Regions from separate parts of the Homo sapiens genome. Here region 1 is linked to region 2. Evidence: promoter capture Hi-C in human tissues and cell types (Jung and others, 2019). All regions are on one chromosome and are shown on one strand. The core of a region is centred on a gene start or on the middle of the fragment in contact, and the rest is flanking DNA. Distances in the headings are between cores, read along the strand shown.

The links. Contacts are between HindIII fragments. The study calls those that stand out against the background at their distance.
Region 1: a fragment that was not itself captured here is called in contact with the fragment with the promoter of VSNL1 in region 2 in 1 of the 25 tissues and cell types used here (aorta).

Annotation. Positions count from the first base shown.
Region 1 is chr2:17,504,003-17,510,010 of GRCh38, reverse strand. No RefSeq gene overlaps it. Among named protein-coding and RNA genes, the nearest start is that of RAD51AP2, 11 kb to the left of the region's middle. The HindIII fragment of the contact is 4,314 bases long and covers 1,600-5,913 here.
Region 2 is chr2:17,537,125-17,543,188 of GRCh38, reverse strand. VSNL1 (visinin like 1) reads right to left here and starts at 2,493. Exons shown (of 4, transcript NM_003385.5): 1 at 2,271-2,493. It also overlaps a transcript of RAD51AP2 not described here. RefSeq lists an enhancer at 4,069-4,188. The HindIII fragment of the contact is 10,007 bases long and covers 1-6,064 here.

The DNA of each region.
Region 1 (6,008 bases), core at 2,507-5,006, 34 kb after region 2:
TCAGCTCACTGCAACCTCCACCTTCCGGGTTCAAGAGATTTTCCTGCCTCAGCCTCCCAAGTCGCTGGGATTACAGGTGCCCACCACCACTCCCAGCTAATTTTTTTGTATTTTTAGTAGAGACAGGGTTTCACTGTGTTGGTCAGGCTGGTCTCGAACTGCTGACCTCGTGATCCACCTGCTTCGGCCTCCCAAAGTGCTGGGATTACAGGTGTGAGCCACCGCGCCCGGCTGGATATACATAATTTAAAGGTAACTATCAGTAGAGTAAAATATACTTTAGCCAGAGAAATAACAAAAAATGGGCTAGTTAGCAAAACGTAAGGAAAGAAAGAAGCATCAAGAAAGCATAAAAAACAGAAAGCATCTGATGGCATAAGGAGGACTAAATGTATTGATTCACAAAATAGATGTGACTGGATGAAATTATCTTATTACAAGCAAACATTCTCAGACTTACTGAAACCACCTCAAATTTGGCTCTGTTCATTAATTTCCATCCCCCACCATACACTTTCCAACTTCAATATCTTAGACTAATTTTTCTTCTGCCCTCACAGAACTCATTACCTTCTTACATGGTAATATATACCTTGCTAGAACATAAGCTCCTTGAAGGCAGAATTCTTTTCTTTTCCCCACTGATATATCCCAAGTGTCTAGAACAGTACCTGCCCCCTAGTCAATACTCCTATTATTTATCTGACTGAAGAAATAAATTTCTACTCCAATCTCATACTAGCTATGTTTTTTTGAATTCTTAATAGCTTTATGGCCCTGGGCAAGCTCCTCATTTCTAAAAAGAGGATAATATTATCTTCTGGGATTATTGTGAGGATTAAATAAACTAATACATACCACATATTGTAACAGCTCTGATACATAGTAACTACTCAATAGGGAGTACTTACTGATACATAGCAACTACTCAATAATTAATAACTACTTAGAATGTTTGACTTTTCTTGAAATTTTGTTCTGGATTTTGCATTAGATTATTTTCAGAAGTATGCTATTCTTATGAGTTTTATAAAAATGTTTCTTTTTTTCCTACAAACGTCCTCCCTTCCCTCTTCCGTCTTTTTATTATTATTAGCCCCATGTTGGATTTTTCTGTAATCATACAAGGTAAATCTCCTCACAATCAAGATCTGTCTTCACAACCTTAGTCCTTTGCCCTGTTCTCTGTCACTCTGTGTGAATATTTAATTTTGTTCTCAGCTCTGTATCTCTAGGACTGGTTTATATGCTTCTATTCTTATTCCTAGTACCATGAAGGCTTTTATGGATACTTTTGTCTTTTCTCTAATAAATAGTATATTCACTTAGAACCACTCAATGCTGGTTCTTTCATATTCTGAACTGATTGAACATGTGATAAGTTTAAACTCCTAGCACATATTGTGCTGCTTACAACGGTTTTCCATGCCACTGCCCTATTACTAGCTTTGATCGCTAGAACTTTTCTTCTAGGGATGACACCTCCCCAAATGCAAAACTTGCTCCTGCTAGTGTAATTCCTCAAGCACTCCTTCCCTAACTACCTCCAACCAAATACACAACATAAGCACACAGGACCTTCCCTTTCCTGCCTAGGTCTGTGAGTTATTTTCTCCGGAAATAGTAAGTTGGAGGATAGGAGGAAGGCAACATTTTAGCTCTTCTTGTGTTTTTGTGTCTTCATAGCCAGGTTTGGAAAGGCTGCATGGGATCCGTGGTGGAAGACATTTTAAACTGATACCCATCCTCTCTCCACCTTTTTCTTTTTTATCTTTGCTCTTAAAATGTAAAAGTTGAATGCTTTCAGATCAGAGGAAATATTTAAAGGATAAAAAGCCACTTTAAAAAGTACTTGCTTTTATTCAACTTCAGAGTGAATCTCTGCGTTACTTCAGTTTAAAGTTACAAGCCTCTGGATGCATAACTGTGAGCATGAGAAGAGAAGCAGAGCCTTATATTAAATCATCTTGAAAAAGTGATGTGGATAGTCTGTACCTTAAGTATGCAAATCTCTGAGTTACCTGTTTAACCTTATTTAGTTAAGCAAAATGGAAAACAAAATATGCAATGAAATTGATCTTTAGTTCCATCTAAATTGCCACATAAAAGAATGTTTATAGAGTCAGTCATCATTTTGGGAAATCTTTTTAATAATGCAGGCATTACACATTTACATTGACACATAATAGATTGTGGCAGAGTTTATCCTGCTAAAAATAATCTTTTAGATTAAAGAGAATAAGATATCAAGAGGATCTGAAATTATATTTTTCCCATTTTGTTGTAACACATATCATTGTTTGAAACTATCCTTGCTAGATAAGCCTATTTAACATATTCTTTTAAAAACACAGCATATTCAGAAAGGAACAGTCACTAAACCATACCACCTATCCAGGCAATGGGCAAAAAATAAACTCAAGATCTAAAGGTCTCTGTAATTTCTTCTGTAATTTCATAATTTGGAGAAACTCATAATTAAAAAAAAAAAAAAAAGAAGTCTGTGGATCTCTTTCTTGAATTCAAGACTCATGACTTTTACTCAGTCTCTCTACTGTGATGACTAATAGGCATTGCAAAGCTACCATGGCCCAAACTGAGCTTCTGATATTTGTTCCCAAACTCTTCCTTCCACAGTGTTTCTTATTTCAGTAAATGGCAATTCTATTCTTTTAGAGACGAAATGCTGGAGTCATCCTTGACACTTATTTTTTTTCTCATAACCCATGGCTGGCCTGTCAACCAATCCTATTGCCTTTGGCTTCTCTTGTCTGGATTATTGCAATTGAGTCCTAACTGATCTCTCTGCTTCAGTTCTTGCTCCCCTTCAGTCTATTCTGAACACAGTAGCCAGAATGATTCTTTAAAATATAAGTTGTAGCATATCCCAGTTCAGCTCAAAACCTTCCAAAGCCTTTCCTTCTCACTCGGAATACAAGCCAAAATTCTTACTTGGATGTATGAGGGCTATAATGATCTGACCTTCTCTTGCCTCCTTAAACTCTTCTCTGTATTTTCCCCTTGTTTATTCCTCTGAAACCACAATGGCCTTCCTGTTTCTTAGACACATTAGGTGTGTCCCTGACTCATGGCTTTTGCACTTACTTTCTTTTCCTGGAATGCTTATTCCTAGGATATCTGTATAGCTTGCCTTGTACCACCTTCCTAATAGCTTTATTCAAATGTCACCTTCAAAGTGTGGCCTTTCCTTCCTGCTAACATTCATATTCCCTTTCCCTGCTTTCAGTTTTTCCTCCTTAATAATTTACTATGGACATACTACATATTTTACTTTTTATTTTGTTTATTGCCTGTCTTTGCCACTAGGTTTTAAACTCTGTGAGGGCAAAAGTCTTTTGTGTTATATTTATTACTCTATCCCCAGTGCCTAGGACAGTGCTTGACGTAAGTATTCAATAAATGTTATTGACAAAAAATTGAATAATGAGACCAACAGCGAGTATGTCTTAAACATATCATGCTGAATAAACTTCTTGAATCATATACCTTTGTGCCCTCCTGGAATTTAAAGGTCTCTTCCCTCTTCTTTGCTATTCTCTTTTGTATTTTCTCCTTGAACCAGAGAAGTGAAAACAAAGCTTCGATCTAGATCATTTACTATGTGATCTTCTTCAGGCATTTAGCTGCCTAACGTGTCTGAATTTAAAATTAGTCTTTTTTAATGAAGAAAAAAATAAGGCAAACCATAGTAAAATTTGGTACATATTTAAAATTCAATGTCGTATCTCTTATGCCACTTAAAATCTTTGTAAACAACATCCGTATTTAAATTTTCTAATGGCCTTTTCCTTTTGAGTTAGTAAAAAACATCTATTAGAGTTTTCCAAATTTTAATTTTTGCCTTTTTACTTTTATAATTCCCCTTTAAACAGTCTTTTAAATTTTATTTACTGATTCATTTTTGAAAAGTTAATACCTAGACATGGTACAAAATACAGAGGATAAAGAACAAAAAAAGAAAGAGTGAGTATAAGTCCTTTTCTTTTTTTCCACACTCAACTTTTCAGTTTCTGTTGATGGAGGAAACAATTGTCAACAGCTACTTGCTCCTATGAAAAAATAATATTTTATTATTAATAAGCATAGAGGGTATTTTTAGTTATTATCTGTTTTATACCTATACTTTAAAATATGCATGATTGTCTTTGTATCTTACTTTTTCCTTAAATATATATTTCTATAAAGAAATTTGGTCATTATGGTATACTTAACAAATTTAATAATTTATGCATTTTAACGTGTTACAATTTTAAGGTTATAAAACTTTTTTTCAATGTTAAGAAACAGAAACTTGAAAAGTAAACTGGGCTTAGTGAATCTGACATTTCCATTAAAATTACCTTAATTTCTGAAGCAATTTTAGAAATTCTGATTTTTAACTATTTCAAATATCTTTAACACTATCTTAACAAAGTATTCATATTCCAACAAATTCAATTTTATCTGTACGCTTAATTACACAGTCCATGTCTTCGTTTTTTTTAAAAAAAAACTTTGTAATTGATTTTGCTGCCTGTCTAATTATGATTGCAATTTCTCTCCTTTATTTCACTACTATACATCCACTAGCTCAAATTGCTACTCAATTCTTTATTAAGCTTTCATCTGTATGTGCACACATTCTTTCTCCTCTCTCCTCAGAGTTTTTATCTCTTTGCCTGCCCTGCCTTCTCTCATCAGAAAGAATACTCTTAAAATGCAGAGGACTTTGGCCTTTTTTCAGTTTGCATTTTCTTTTATTTCTTTGCATCGTTAGCTGCTTTCTATTCTTGAAACTTTCACTTTATGATGATACACTACCTTTTATTTTCCTAACAATTGTATCTCTTTTGCTTTCTAATCCTCAGATATAAGGAAACTTCAAAGTATAGTCCATGGACTTTTGCTCTTTATTTCTGTGTTTTACGCTTAGAAATCTCATTCATTTTTCATGGGATCACTTACGGCCTCCACATTTACCAACTCTACAGTTTTGGAAACAAATTATGTCTATTATATCTCTCTATATATCAATTACAACTACATCAACAAACTCTATGCTTTGGAAACAAATTATACCTTTCAAATTCTAATTTTGGCAGCATAACAATAATTAAAAAAACTAATGTTTATGAAATACATGCCACGGTTCAGGAGCTATTCTAAAATCTGTATATATAAAATACTAATTTAATCTTTAAATAACCTCACAGTCAGATACCATTACTATCTCCATTTTACATTGTGAGTTAAATAACTTGTCTAAGGTCACAAAGTATTATGTTTTCAGAATTCAAACCCATGCAGTCTGCCCTATGGCCAAAGCTCTTAACTGCTGTTATATTGCTCTGATTTCCACATTGCTATAGGTCAACAACTTCAACTCAGTTGTCTAATATCTCATCAGTCATCATTCACTCTACCACCTGACATTTATTTTATACTGTCAAGTTCTGTTACTTCTTCCTTCTAAGGAACCCTTAACCAATGCATCCTTCTTCATTCTTTAGAGCCTCTATAAAGTGGCCTTACCTAATAGAACTTTCCAACTGGCCGCCCCTCAACTTCCCTACAATTTGGCTAGTCTATTAATGCACCACTTTCTCCCAACTAATATTTTCCCATTTTGCTAATTTTTTCCTCTACTGAGATGCACTTTCTTTCACCTGTTTAAATCACACCTGTCCTTAAACTACCACCTTTATACTGCTTTTCCCAACTACTTGAACATTTTATGATTGCTAAGTCCCCTGAATAATGATAGTGCTTTCTTTTTAATGCATCATCAAGCATTTATTACACCTGCTTTGTATTTTATCTTTGCCTATCTAAGCTTGGGCATAGAGATCATTTTAGAAACTTTGCAGTCTCTAAAGCAGTGTATCAGAGCTTTATACTAAAAATGTTTGTTAATTATATTTGAATGTTAATATTGCATTTATTTCATGGCATCTTATATTTGGCTTTATATTCTTATTGATAAATCTAGTAAGCTTATAGCTTTTTTT
Region 2 (6,064 bases), core at 1,244-3,743:
GTGGGGATATTAGAGGTGAGGGGCAATAAAAAAGAGAGAGAAAGAGACCTTACAAGACAAAGAGAGGCAAGGAAGAGAAATGAGGTGGTATAAAAGGGACCCCTAGAGACAATTTCAAAAGATGTGCTGGAGAGCAGACAGTTATTTATTTGAAGTCTGCAGCAATGTCACTGAGACTGCTGAAAATGAAAGAGAGAAGGAAACATTTCCACTCAACATTACTTTTTAATTGTTTATTCCATAGACTAGAAGTTAATTGACTTTTCTCTACATCCATGGTTCTGGGCCTCAGTTTCCTCATCTACAAAGCAAGGGGTTTGGACTAGATACCTTACAGGGTCTCTGCCTAACTTGATCCTCTCTGTCAACCTATGAGCCAGGGACTCCAAGACCAAGCATTTATCAGTTTTGATACCTAATTCCCCCCTTTTTCCTCTACCACCCCTCTTTATCAATGCAGTGTCAACACCTGCACCATTCATCGAACTGATGCCAATGCTCAATGATGACAGGGAGTATGGCTCAATTATGACAAATGATTAGTCCTTCTGCCCTGGAGTAAGGAAAGAAGGAATAGACAAGGCAGTATGATTTATACTGTGGATTTCCAATGAGAGGTTCTTCTCGAATTTTCAATTACAAATTTCATCCATTTAAATAAATTATAAATTCCTTTGAGGGGTTCCAAATGGTTGGACTGATCAAAGGGCCAAAGAGCCCTATTTGATGGCCCCCACACCCGATTTGAGGGAAAATTTATTTCATTTCATCCCCAAAATTGGATTTGCTTATTTCGTGGAAATCCAGCACGCACTAGCCATGCTTTTTTCTCATCTTTCTGCCTCATGCCCATTCTGCCAACCTGCTTCAGTGCAGCATTTTCTGGGGTTATTAAATACCCAAGGCTTAATGAGAGTGCATTCAAAAGTAAGTTGTTCAATGATGTAGGATCACCCCCTACTCCCCCCCACCACACACACACAAACACACGTAGGCAGTTTAAATGATAGTGGGGGTAAAATGTGTTTTCACAAGAGTTTCATTTTAAATTTGTCTCAACCTGAAATTCCTTTAGAAATTAAAATAAATATTAATATGTAGAAATAAAACTCCCCAGCTTTTCTTGCCTTCAACTGGAAAGTGATACACAAATAGTATGTACTTAGTGTTCTCCACAACCACCAACAATTCTATTTTATTTTAGTTTCCAAAATACGGACAGGAGGGCAACTCTAGAAAAATGGATTCCCACTCTGGCATCTCACAGGGCACTGATCAGGCAATGCGGAGCACTCATCATTTCCACCATGCAGGGAGCATCAGCCTCTCCTCGCTCCTTCCACGTACACATTCTTGTACCCCTGAGGGTATTCATCATTCTGATTTCCACCCGGGGTTTGACCTTGCAAAGACCCTTCTTCCAGTTTCTGGGCAAGGAACAACCCATTTTAACTCAAAACACAAAACGACCTTTTATCCTTTAAAGAAATACTACCAAATGTAACACACCTTGATTTACATTTTTTAACCCCAGATTCCGGATGGCGAACACGGAATGCAAAGGCAGGTAACTAGTTTGGGTCTGACAGTCCCCATTCAGCGACCGAGCCTGTGACTCCGTTCAAAATCGACAGTGCAGTAGAGCATCTTTCCCTTTTCTGCCCATTCACCATTGTGACAAAAATCAAAGACGAAAAAAATTATCTACTCATTTCTGAATACTGAGAGAAATGTGCTCATTTTGCGCCTGACTCCGTGGATCTTAAACACTAACATCCCGCTCAGAGATCAACCATGATTTCCATACCAATCTCATCCACTCAGTTTTACTTAGCAAACACCTTTGCTGCCCTTCCACAGTGAGAAAAATGGTGCACCAATCCCACGGATGACAGGTTGCTACTCGACTGTACCCGCTCAATAGTTTTATCAGCAACCGGAAAACTTCACAATCGGTCAATTAGCTACTTAAATCTGTCTAAGACAAACTAAGAAAGCATCTCAGTTTCACCTGTCTTAAATCTAGTCTAAGACAATCCCCCAAACACGCCGCATATAAACACTCCCCCTTCCCCCACCCCCAATATTCCAAAAGATCCCCCATGGACTAAGAGCACATTCAGATCGCCAGCATTAAGCAAGGAAATTGTCCCCATGCATTTAGACGCATCTATGCAAAGCAAAGTATGTGACAATAGCCAAAGCATTTCTCTGACAGTTGGTTGCACTACACATGCAGAAATGCAACGAAGATTGTATTTTCCACTTACAGTTACAGCGCTGCGCACGGTCACTTAACGAAAATGATAAAACTCAACAGTTCTTTTTAAAAATATATATTTAATTCGGGTAAACGCTTAAGCCGTCTCTGTGTGTGGTTCTCTCTCGCTCTCTTTTTCTCTGGAGCTCTGGGCTGCTTAAATCCCTCTTGGATCGCGCCTTGCAAGCCCAGCCGCTGCCGCAACACGCTCGGGTAAATCTCTGCTGCAGATTGGGAATCCCATAGAAAACCTAGGGTCCCTGGAGCTGGATGCGCAGGCGCGCGAGCCTCCGCCTCTCCAGGCACCCCCTCCCCTTTCCTCTCTTCCCTCCCCCCAGCTCCGCAGCCCCAGCTAGGAGAACTCGGGAGCCTGTGACCAAAAGCCGCCTGGCGATGGCGCATGCTCAGTCGGAGGGGCTCGGAGTTTCCGCGGGTGGATTCCACGTCTCCAGATTTTAGCAAAAGCTCAAAAGGAAAGTATATAGGAAAAGGGAGTCCGGCTACCGGAGCAACCCGCACCTGGACGGGCGCGAGGGACTGCGGGTTACCCGGACTCGCCACGCCCAGTGGTTACCGAACCTGGGGGCTGAAGGCCGAGGCCAGAGATGGAACACGTGGAGCCGCTTTTCCCGCTGCTTTCTGTCCTAGCCGACCCCCGGCCCACCCTTTGTTAGGCTGTAAGGTGAAGGAGAAAACTGCAGAAATCTCCGAAAGAAGACTTCCCAGCAAGCTGTGAGCACGTCTACCTGGCTTACTGAAGGAACGGTTATGGTGGTCATTTTGTCATGGGCCATTTCATCAGAGGGTCTTCTGCTAGGAGTACTGGGAGCCGGGTCCTGCAGCACCCAGTGCCCCGGACAGTCTCGGTCCAGAACGGCGTTGAAAAAATGTGTGTTAAAGGGAGCTGGGATCCGAGGCTTCTTGCCCTGTGTACCCTGAGCCAAGCGCCTTCTGTATGCACTTAAGTGTTTTTAACATATGCTTTGCGTCTGGGGTGGGAGGGGGTGGGTGAAAGGGCGGGAATGAACCATTTTGCGAACCCACGTTTAAGGGCTCTGATTAGGCCATCTTATAAAGCCCCCTTTGTGTCCTTGAACAACTAACAGGTTTGCCAGCCCTCCCCCCGGCTCCCCATTGGCCTGCCAAAGCCTAGAAGGCTTGGCAAGGAGTAGTGCCCAATAAATGTTTGGTCGGTCGCTTCCCTACCAGAAAAGCAAGGAGAATTCCCAGATGTTCCCAACCAGACCAGTTTTCCTCAAGTGTGTATGTTGTACATGAACTCATTCAACAATTATTCATGGAAGCATTTGCAAAACTATTAGACATTCCTTTATGCTTTGGGAATAAGTGCGGTTAACAAAACCCCCTCCTGGGCTTTACATTCAGGTGGGAGTTTTATTTTCAAGGGAGGGAAGTTCTGGGGGCGAGATGAAGATCGAGGTTCTCCTTAAGCAGAGCGCTGTACAATTTGCACAGCGTCTTCACACACCTTATCATGTTCAGGAAAACTGTAGAGTTGACCTACCCTTCGGTGCTGGGGACACCAAGAGCGTCTCCCGTGGCAAATGAGCTCTAAATTGACAAATCTCCAGCTGCTCCTGGTTCCAAGTCGAGGAGTCCAGCTTTGAACAAACTTGAGACTACTTAAGTGGGCACCAGGAGAAACTCCGCCAGACAAGTCTGTGGCTGTCGACATGCTAAGTGAGGGCCTCAGGCAGTGATGCCTAAGCCTCATTCGCTGCCAACCTAGCCAGCCCAGAACCCAGGAACTGGCTTCCCGGGCAGGACGCCTCGGGAAGGTTGCGCAAAGGGGGAGCGCGCTCTCGGGACTCCCGGGACACCGCCCGCGGCTGTCCCCTCTCGGCAGGGCTCTTCCGCCAGTGCTGGTGACCGCGGAAACCCGGAGCGCGGAGTCGCGCGGACCACGGCGCGCGGCCCCGGCGGGCTGCGGCAGCCGAGCACGTTTAGAATCTGGCGGGCGCCAGCCCTTCGCTCTGGAGCCGCAGTGCGCACTGCGCTGCGGGGCTCCCGGGCGCGCCGGGCTGCTCCTGTTTCCTGGGACTGGCAGGGGGAGTCAGTCCTGAATAAGTCACTTTTTCTTTTTAGCTAGAAAAACGACTTTCAAAAGGCTTTCAAAATCTCGTCTTTGGTCGATTTCCCCTACTACAGCATTTTACGCTGAGTTCTAGTTTCTCTCTCGAGAACAGCCTCCGCACTGTAATCTGCATCAACCCAAAGGGTCATGATGCCATTTCTCCACTTCAACGAGATATACCTATTTATTGCACCCTGGAGGTCTCTTTCGTGGCGGTGTTCGATTTTAGATAACTTACTTGCAACTTGTGTTTAGGAAAAAATGTACACTGATACTTTAAACCATGCTCTGTTGTAGGGTACGATTGATATCGACGCGTGCGCTTTTGTAAAGTAGCTTTGTCTACGTGGGCGGGCAGATTTTTTAAAGTTCCATTTGCACTGCAGCGCTGTTTGCGTCCTAAATGCGATATTGTAATGTTTAATATCCAGCTATTATGTAGCTTTATCTTTTTCAGCTTCTAATATTTTGTTGCTGTTTAATTTTTTTGGCATGCCTTTTAGTCGAGTTGTATATACGAAGTCACAGTAAGAAAGCCAATTCTAAGACTCCTAAGGAATATTATCGTTTAAATTACAGAAGGCAAATCCCCTCTTTAGGATGGGAGAATGTACTTGAAGGGAGGAATGTGGCAGGGTCCCTCAGAAGTGAGGGAGCCCGCTGTTCCTCCTTCAGGCATTTGCGGATGGCACTGGTGATCACAAAAAAGCGGAGATTACGCTGCCGGGCGCTCCTGTGGTAGAGGGACTGGAACACTGTCCCATGTTGAGTGAAGAATGCCATCAGCTTTACCAGTTGTCCCGTTACCTAAAGCCACGTCCCCAACTCTACAACTTTCACACCCTGGATTTTTTTTGGGGGGTGGGGGGGTATAGAGGAGGAGGAGGAAGGTGCTGTAGGTAGGGGCTTGTTTCTTCCTTCCTGTGTATCTGGTAGAATCCTCAATTAACCAGAAACAACTGAAGAGCTATTTTTCTTCCTTCAGTTGCAAATTATGTTCTTTATAGAAATTTCTAGCCTTACTTCCACCTTATTTCTTCCCAGATTCAAACAAACAAACAATACCAACAGTAGATTTTCAGGTGTAAAATACTCCATGTAATATTCTCACTCGCTTTGTGACGTGGACGAATTGAAAACGGAGAATGACAGTAAAAGTGTGAAATTCCAGTAGTGTAACAGGTCTAAGCTCATAGTCCTGGGAACTCCTGGTAATATTATTTATTAGAAAATTTGTGTGTAAAATATATGAGCCAAGAAGGGTGGAACTTAAGGCATGGGGATATTTTTTAAAAATTGGAAGAAAACTTGAAAGTCATTATTAGAAAATGAAAAGAGACCGGAATTGAAGAATGGATTTATACTCGTTTATTCTTAAAGAATAATGATAGTAATTTACTTCTATGGATAGCATACCTTTATTCCAAAAGCAAAGGGTATTAATCATTACAGAAAAGGTGTGTTACGTAAGATAATTATATTACGTAAGATTTTTTTTTGTTTTTCTGAGAGAGACAGGGGTCTCGCTCTGTTGCCCAGGCTGGAGTGCAGTGGCAGGATCATAGCTTATTGTGGCCTCAAACTCCTGGGCTCAAGTGATCCTCCCGCCTCAGCTTCCCAAGTGGCTGGTACTACAGACACACACCACCACGCTTGGCTAATTTTATTATATTTTTGTAGAAACAGGTGTCTTGCCATGTTGCCCAGGC